Regions from separate parts of the Homo sapiens genome. Here region 2 is linked to region 1. The links are contacts of gene promoters, found by promoter capture Hi-C in human tissues and cell types (Jung and others, 2019). All regions are on one chromosome and are shown on one strand. Each heading gives the region's core, a stretch centred on a gene start or on the middle of the fragment in contact. The rest is flanking DNA. Distances are from core to core; before and after follow the strand shown.

Evidence for each region. Contacts are between HindIII fragments. The study calls those that stand out against the background at their distance.
Region 2: a contact is called between the fragment with the promoter of DMRT2 here and the fragment with the promoter of DMRT1 in region 1, in 1 of the 25 tissues and cell types used here (neural progenitor cells).

What each region holds. Positions count from the first base shown.
Region 1 is chr9:836,841-842,946 of GRCh38, forward strand. DMRT1 (doublesex and mab-3 related transcription factor 1) reads left to right here and starts at 4,857. Exons shown (of 5, transcript NM_021951.3): 1 at 4,857-5,352. The coding sequence starts at 4,999. The HindIII fragment of the contact is 5,420 bases long and covers 1,974-6,106 here.
Region 2 is chr9:1,049,107-1,051,606 of GRCh38, forward strand. It overlaps DMRT2 (doublesex and mab-3 related transcription factor 2), which reads left to right and starts at 1,251. Exons shown (of 4, transcript NM_181872.6): 1 at 1,251-1,669; 2 at 2,464-2,500. RefSeq lists an enhancer at 1,023-1,892. The HindIII fragment of the contact is 14,990 bases long and covers 1-2,500 here.

The DNA.
Region 1 (6,106 bases), core at 3,607-6,106:
GGTGCACACTACTACACTTGGCTAATTTTTAAATTATCTACAGAGATGGGGTCTCCCTATATTGCCCAGGCTGGTCTGGAACTCCTGGGTTCAAGATATCCTCCTGCCTCAGCCTCTCAAAGTGCTGAGATTGCAGGTGTAAGCCACCATGCCTGGCCATATTAAACCCATTTTTCAATTGGGTTGTCTTTTCATTATTAAATTGTAAGAGTTGTTTATATATTCTGGATACAAATCAGATATATGATGATCAGATATATGATTTTCAAATATTTTCTCACAAAATGTTTTGGCTTGTATTTTCATTTTCTTTTCTTTTTTTCTTCTTTTTTTTTTTTTTCTTTTCTTTGAGATGGAGTCTTGCCTTGTTGCCTAGGCTATAGTGTGGTGGCGCCATCTTGGCTCACTGCAACCTCCATCTCCGGGGTTCCAGCGATTCTCCTGCCTCAGCCTCCCGAGTAGCTGGGATTACAGGCACCCGCTACCACGCCTGGCTAATTTTTGTATTTTTAGTAGAGACAGAGTTTCGCCAAGTTGGCCAGGCTGGTCTTGAACTCCTGATGTCAGGCGATCTGCCCACCTCAGCCTCCCAAAGTGCTGGGATTATGGGCATAAGCCACCGGGTCAGGCTGTATTTTCATTTTCTTAATGGTATCTTTTGAAGACACAAAAGCTTTGAATTTTGGTGAAGTCCAGTTTGCCAGTTTTTTTCCTTTCATCACTTTTGCTTTTTTTTTTTTTTGAGATGGAGTCTTGCTCTGTGGCCCAGGCTAGAGGGCAGTGGTGTGATCTTGCCTCACTGCAACCTCTGCTTCCCCAGTTCAAGCAATTTTCCTGCCTCAGCCTTCTCAGTAGCTGGGATTACAGGCGCAGGCTGCCACGCCTGGCTAATTTTTTGTATTTTAGTAGAGATGGGGTTTCACCGTGTTGCCCAGGCTGGTCTCGATCTCCTGAGCTCAGGCGATCTACCCGTCTCAGTCTCCCAGAGTGCTAGGATTATAGGCATGAGCCACTGCGCCCGGCCCACTTTTGCTTTTGGTGTTATGCCTAAGAAGTCTTTGCCCAACCCTGACATGTTTTAGAACTGCCCCTCCCCCCACTTACCAATATGTCTTGGACATATTTCTATTTCAGTAAATACAGATCTGCATCACCATCTTTATGGCTTCCATGTCTGGAAAAAGGAGAGGAGAGAAAGGAGACAACAAAGCCAGGCTACTTGAAATATCCAGTACAAATTTGTTCATTCTTGGGGCCTTCCTGTCTCTATTTTTTTTTTCTTGAGGCAGAGTCTCACTGTGTCACCCAGGCTAGAGTGCAGTGGTACCATCTCGGTTCACTGCAACCTCTGCCTCCAGGGTTCAAACGATTCTCTAGCCTCAGCCTCCCAAGTAGCTGGAATTACAGGCACCCACCACCCTGCCCAGCTAATTTTTGTATTTTAGTAGAGACAGGGTTTCATCATGTTGGCCAGGCTGGTCTCAAACTCCTGACCTCAAGTGATCTGCCTGCCTCGGCCTCCCAAAGTGCTGGGATTACAGGCATGAGCCACTGCGCCCAGACTTTTTTTTTTTCTTGAGAAGGAGTCTCCCTCTCTTGCCCAGATTAGAGTGCAATGGCGCAATCTCAGCTCACTGCAAGCTCTGCCTCCCAGGTTTTAAGAGATTCTCCTACTTCAGCCTCCCGAGTAGCTGAGATTACAGGCACGCGCCACCAAGCCCGGCTAATTTTTGTATTTTTAGTAGAGACAGGGTTTCACCATGTTGGTCAGGCTGGTCTTGAACCCCTGACCTCATGATGCACCTGCCTCCACCTCCCAAAGTGCTGGGATTACAGGTGTGAGCCACCGCGCCTGGCCACTTTTTTTTTTTTTTTGGAGGTGGAGTTTTGCTTTTTTTTTGCCCAGGCTGGAGTGCAATGGCACGATGTTGACTCACTGCAACCTCCGCCTCCCGGGTTCAAGTGATTATCCTGCCTCAGCCTCCCGAGTAGCTGGGATTACAGGTGTGTGCCACCATGCCTGGCTAATTTTGCATTTTTAGTAGAGAAGGGGTTTCACCCTGTTGACCAGGCTGGTCTCGAACTCCTGACCTCAGGTGGTCTGCCCGCCTCGGCCTCCCAAAGTGCTGAGATTATAGGCGTGAGCCACTGTGCAGGGCCCGTCTCTATTTTTGGTGGTCTCCTGTCTGGTACCTCTTCTGTGGTTTGTGAATAAATTTACTAGGCTATTAACTTCATCACAACATTTTATGTTATAATACCTTGGTCACAGAGATTCCTAGCCCCGAATTTTCTGTGGGCTTAAATTCCTCCTTCACAGATTCCAGTAATAGGATGCTTATAAAGAACCTATATTCCCCTGTAATTTGGGATTTGACAGCTGTTTCCTCCTGCATCTACTTCACTCTCTAGAACTGGACAGGACCTTGGGAATGATTCAGCTCCAGTTTATATATTAAAATACAAATATGGGTCAGGCACGGTGGCTCACACCTATAAATCTCAGTGCTGTGGGAGGTGGAAGGAGGAGAATCACTTGAGGCCAGGAGTTTGAGACCAGCCTGAGTAACATAGTAAGCCCCTGTCTCCACAAAATTTTTAAAAATTGGGGCCAGGCTTGGTGGCTCACGCCTGTAGTCCCAGGACTTTGGGAGGCCGAGGCGGGTGGATCACGAGGTCAGGAGATCGAGACCATCCCGGCTAACATGTTGAAACCCGGTCTCTACTAAAAGTACAAACAATTAGCCGGGCATGGTGGCAGGCGCCTGTAGTCTCAGCTACTTGGGAGGCTGAGGCAGGAGAATGGCGTGAACCCGGTAGGCGGAGCTTGCAGTGAGCTGAGATCGCGCCACTGCACTCCAGCCTGGGTGACAGTGCGAGACTCCATTTCAAAAAAAAAAAAAAATTTGGCGTGGTAGCACATGCTTCTAGTCCCAGCTACTTGGAAGGCTGAGGCAGGAGGATCCCTTTAGCCCAGAAACTGGAGGCTACAGTGAGCTATGACTGTGCCACTGCACTCTAGCCCAGGCAACAGAGCAAGACTCTATCTCTAAAAATTAAATAAATAAAATATAAATCTGGAAAAAGAACATAAATATTGGATAACAGCAATTGACATGCGTGTTTTAATGGAAGATTGTTTTAATGGAAGATTTAAGTGGTTATCATTTATAAGTTTCCAGGATGGAATAGATTGTTGCATCCTAGCTCCTGTCAGGAGTAGAGCTTCACTGGTTTCACAGGTAGGGTATGAGGTGCTGTGTAAAGCTAGAAGCTTCTTTTGGAAGTAATTTTCAGACAGAGAATACTAATGGAGAAATTTCAGACTGAGGGAAAGGGCCTGTGAGAGAGGCCTCAGAATTAGAGCTCCAAAGGCAGATTCGAGGATTTCAGAACTCAGTGCTGAAAACACCAAACTGCTGAAAGAGGTGGCCACAGTACAACCATTTTGATGAGAAGTTGAACAGGGTGACCATGCCTCTTTGGAGAAATAATCCCCTAGGTCTGGAGGCGGCCCAGGATCCTGAAGGTGAGTACCAGTGCTGGTGGAAAATAAGGAGCATTCAAAGTGCATTAAGAGCCACTCCGGGGTCTTTAACTTGTTAACATGGAAAACAATAGCAAAGTACTGCTGGGGCCCCCTGCTGTGTGTATAGAATATACCGGAAGACTAAGACATGGAGATAGCAGCTGGGAGCTACCGCAGAGATTCAGACTTGAGGTGAAGGGCTGGCCTTAGGGGGGCACGTGGGTGTGTAGGAAGAACTGCTCAGCAGGCCTTAGGGATACATTTGTTGTGCAGGTGCAGAGAGGACACAGGCATGGCTGGGGCGGGAGTTCAGGATGAGAACCCTGGGACAGGCTGTAAGATGATCGAGCCAGGGGTGTGTGTGTGTGTGTGTGTGTGTGTGTGTGTGTGTGTGTGTGTAGAGGTATAATGACATACTGTAAAATGCAAGATATGAAGTGTAGAATGAGTTTTGATACATTTCTACATCTGTGTAACCACCCCCCACAACCTCAGTTTTTTTTAATACATATGTTTCTTTTTAAGTTTGAGTTTCCCGTGCCTGCAGAGTCTAAGTTTAAACAGCCTCACAGACAAGAAGCTATATGCACCTGAAGTGAACGGGAACACGGGCTGCAACAGTAGATCGTAAAGTTATTTGGAGCGAAGGAGGTAGAAGTGTTGTGAGCAAATGAAGACAGGTGCAGGAAGGGATAAACGGAGAACAGAAAGTTCCAACCTTTGAGATTTTTGAAGTGCTTGTGCCCCAACACTGAGGATCTTCTTTGCCGTATATAGGGCAACTCTGATTTACCCTATAAATTTCTCAGGCCTTCCACCTCATATTTAATTCTCTTAAGCGAGAAAAAAAATTTTTTTCTGACTTGGCTGCTGCCAAGGTCGGCTCTATCAAATCTGGTGCGTCTCTCTGGGGGAAAGGGAGCTAGAAGACCCCATAGGGTGGTTTGCACCTCCTCTAAGCATGCAAGCACGGCTCTGGTCTTGACCTGGGGAGCCCAGCTTCCTCGGTGCACCGTGCTTTGGCAACCGGGTCTTGGCGCCTCCGAGAGCGGGGCGAGGGGTGCCACGCGATTCCCAGGCCGCTCTGTATCTCTCGGTGCGCTTGCAGGGACCCTGCAGCAAAGCCCTGGATGCTTGCAGCCGGTGCAAGTTTGCAAGCAGCTGGAGAGCGGTGGCTGGAGTCGGGGGGCGGTGGGCGTGGCCACGCTCCCTCCCAGGCAGTCCCGGGAATGTTCTGAAAAGTATCCGAAAGTTCTGAGTCGCGCGCGCGCCAAAAGAAAAGGCACAACCCCCCACCACTCCGGGCGTGGCGTGCCCAGACCTCGCCACTCCAGCTGCGCCTCCGGCTGCAGCGCACACGTCTCCTGCGCCTCCTCCTCCGGAGCGTCGCTGTCCGTCGGGTTCATCCCTCGCAGCAGTCTCCAGGCGAGAGAGGGGGCCAGAGTGCTCGCACTTCTCCTAGGGGCACCATGCCCAACGACGAGGCATTCAGCAAGCCCTCTACACCGTCGGAAGCCCCTCACGCCCCCGGGGTACCGCCGCAGGGCAGAGCCGGGGGCTTTGGCAAAGCGTCTGGGGCGCTAGTGGGGGCGGCCAGCGGCTCGAGCGCCGGGGGCAGCAGCAGAGGAGGCGGCTCCGGCTCCGGGGCGTCGGACCTGGGTGCCGGGAGCAAGAAGTCCCCGCGGCTGCCCAAGTGCGCACGCTGCAGGAACCACGGCTACGCCTCGCCGCTCAAGGGCCACAAGCGCTTCTGCATGTGGCGCGACTGCCAGTGCAAGAAGTGCAACCTGATCGCCGAGAGGCAGCGCGTGATGGCCGCGCAGGTGGGTGCGGGCGTGCGGGAGCCCGGGTTCAGCCTTAGTTTTTTTTTTTTTTTTTTTTTTTAGATGGAGTCTCGCTCGGTTGCCCAGGCTGCAGTGTAGTGGCGCGATCTTGGCTCACTGCAACCTCCGCTTCCCGGGTTCAAGCAATTCTCCTGCCTCAGCCTCCCAAGTAGCTGGGACTACAGGCGCACACCACCATGCCCGGCTAATTTTTGTATTTTTAGTAGAGACGGGGGTTTCACCATATTGGTCAGGCCGGTCTCGAGCTCCTGACCTCAGGTGATCCACCCGCCTCGGCCTCCCAAAGTGCTGGGATTACAGGCGTGGGCCACCGCTCCCGGCGGGGCCCGAGTTTCTTGAATGAAGTCCCCCCAGCATGGCCGTTGCCATGCGGGTCCTGGGTTGTGGAGAGATGCGGCGGTACTTGCCGACAGCGGCGGCGCTTGGGGTCCTGGGCTCCCGGCCACGCTACATCGCCGGTCTGGGAGCGCCGGAGACGCGTCTGATCCCGCCCGCCGGGCAGAGTTGCGGGCTTCGCTCGGCTCGGGGTTCCCCACGATCTCTCACCCTGTGTTTCGGCGGAGTTGCGGGGGTTCCCTCTGCTCCCGGGTCCCTGAGATCCCTGATCCCGCTCTCAGGGCAGGGAATTCCGGGGTTCGCCCCTCTGGGCTTCCCCGCGATCCCAGAGCCCGCGTTCCAACAGAATTGGGAGGGTTTATTGCGCTAGAGGAGTCTTCAGGATCTTCGCTCCCGC
Region 2 (2,500 bases), core at 1-2,500, 210 kb after region 1:
TGCCTGGTCACCGGGGAGGAACTTTACAACATCACTGAAGGTTTGAGAATAGTGCTTCTGGCTGGTCGCGGTAGTTCCTAAGCTGCCTTTGTTCCCACTTCTCTGATCCAGGTTAACTTTTAACATTCTGACAAACTCGGACAAAAGTAACGTTGGGATTACGTCAGGAATTCCCACCCTTCAACAAATATTTGTTGCGGGCCTACTATGTACTCAGTGCAATGATACCCAATTTTGTAGTCTCCTAAACAGATCCTACTCGAGAGGTCTTGATTATTTACAGATGCAGTTAGAAAAGCGCCCATATTATTTTTAATTGAGTTCAAGAAATAGAATGCAGCGTTGAATTAGAAGACTAATTCCTTCTTTTAATATGTTGAAAATTTTTTATCGTTAAACATTTTGTAAAGGATTTTTTGAGGGAGTCGTTAGAAAGTCTATAAATACAACTACGCACACTAAAAAGTAGTCATCTTTTTAAAAATAACTTTGTTTAAATGCATGCTTAGTGTGAATGGATTTACCTAATTCTCTTAATAGCATGCATTTCTGATCTTCCCTACATTAACTGTAATAGCAACTGATATAACAGAAAAATGTAAGTGACTTGTAGTCGACTTGGCCACCTGCCACACGGGCTCGGTGAAGGTTAATGAGGAGCTATTTGGCACTTCGAGAATAGGTGGCACTAGACACAGAAATATCAACAGGCTATTTGTATGCTAACTAGGAGTTTCGGTGCCAGGTAACCATTGATGTACTCTTGCAGGAGAAAGAAGGATGTCGCTGTACGCCCCGAAAGAGAGGCATCATTTTTACGCCCAGTTTGGATTAATGATTGATTGAGTCGCAGAAATGCTTGTGATGCTGATAGAGGCCAATACTGGTCTTTCTGATCTCTTCCTCGTCGTTTATTACCTTCTCTTGTGGACAACGCATTCCTAAGAATGTATCTCTGCTTGTTTCCCAGTCCGCGAGATAAATGGTGACTTCTCTCTTGCAGGCACCGTCATACCTCGGGTTTAGATTCTGGACAGGCGAGCCGGCTGCACCGAAGGCCCGGTAGGCGGACTCTGGCGGAGCGCTTCAGAGAGAAGAGTGTAGACCGCGGGAGGCGGAGGGCTCCCTGCCAGCGTGCCTCGGCCAATCAGTATTCACACCGCCTGACAACCGGCCAATCAGAGGACGTAAAGCTCCGGGGCCTGAGCGGACAGTACTAGGAAGGGGAGCGCAGTCTGCAGACTGAAGCCAGTGGCGCTGCGCTGAATGCAACTGCGCGCGCCCGCCGGGTGAGCCAGCGATCTGAGCCAGGCGGGGGCGGCCCGACCTTTCCCGCCCAGCCTGGGTCAGAGGAAGCCGAAAGCGGCCTCAGCAAGGTGAGGCGCCCGAGGCTGCAGAAGACCGAGCAGAACTTTGCAGAGTTCGGGATGTGCTGGGCTAGGTCGCTGAGGACTTGACTGGCTTCCTCCCTCCTTCCCTCCACCTACCTTCTCCCTCCCCCTCCACCATCCAGTGGGTTCGTTCCGGGCCTCCAGCTATCAGCTCCCGATCTCGTGTTTGAGGGTAGCGACCCCGATTTCTGTTTGCATGCACAGCCAGCAGCCCTAGCGCCAGATCCTAAAGCTGGATATCTTTTAACTGGGCTACCAGCCCGGGCCTCAAAGTTTTGGTGAGTGCTGTGATGCCGCTCGGGGTGTCAGGGAGGGCAAAGGGCGTGAATCATCTTTCACCTTTTCTGTGTGACTTGGATGCCTTACCTTAAATATATAAACCAAGGCCTAAGTACAGAGAGCCCACGCGGCTCAGCCCTGTGCACCTCAGGTACTATTAAGGCTGGACGGGCGTCTGTATTGTGCTCTTTGCCCTTATGGGACGCTAATGACAACAAAATTTTGGTTTTCAGTTGAGTATTTTGGGGAGGGGGGTGAGAGGACCTCTTCAAGCCCAAGGAGGGGTCCTTGTGGTGGTGTAGGCTGATGAGAGGCATTTGGGAAGCATAGAGTGGTACTTCAGTGAGTCTGAAGGGCCACTTGTAATCAAAGGAAAACTGTTCTTCCACGGATAGTTTTATATGCATCATGGCCATACTAGTTGAGTATGGGGAAATCCGACAAGTGGCCTGGGGCTGCCTATTTGGACACAATATTTTGTGTGTGTGTGATAAGTGAGTTACCCAGGGACTTGTCCGGAAAGCCCGTGTAAAGCCAGAGAGGGCCACGGTTAAAGGTCAGGTACTCACAGAGCACTTAGAATTAATAAAATAAAACCTTTGTTGGGTTGTGGATCCCTGGGGGCCCTGGAGATACAGGAAAGGCACGTGTGGCCTGGAAGTGAGGGACATGTAATGAGAACAGGATGACTCAAGCGGCCGGAGGCGGGCAGACCAGGAGCTTTGGGCCGGAGGCTCAGGGATGGTCCCTGACGGCGGCCGGTGGGTCTTTGGATTTCTTTGTGTTTCCCCAGAGTGAGGGCCGCCAGGCTCAGGCCCCAGCGAAGCCCC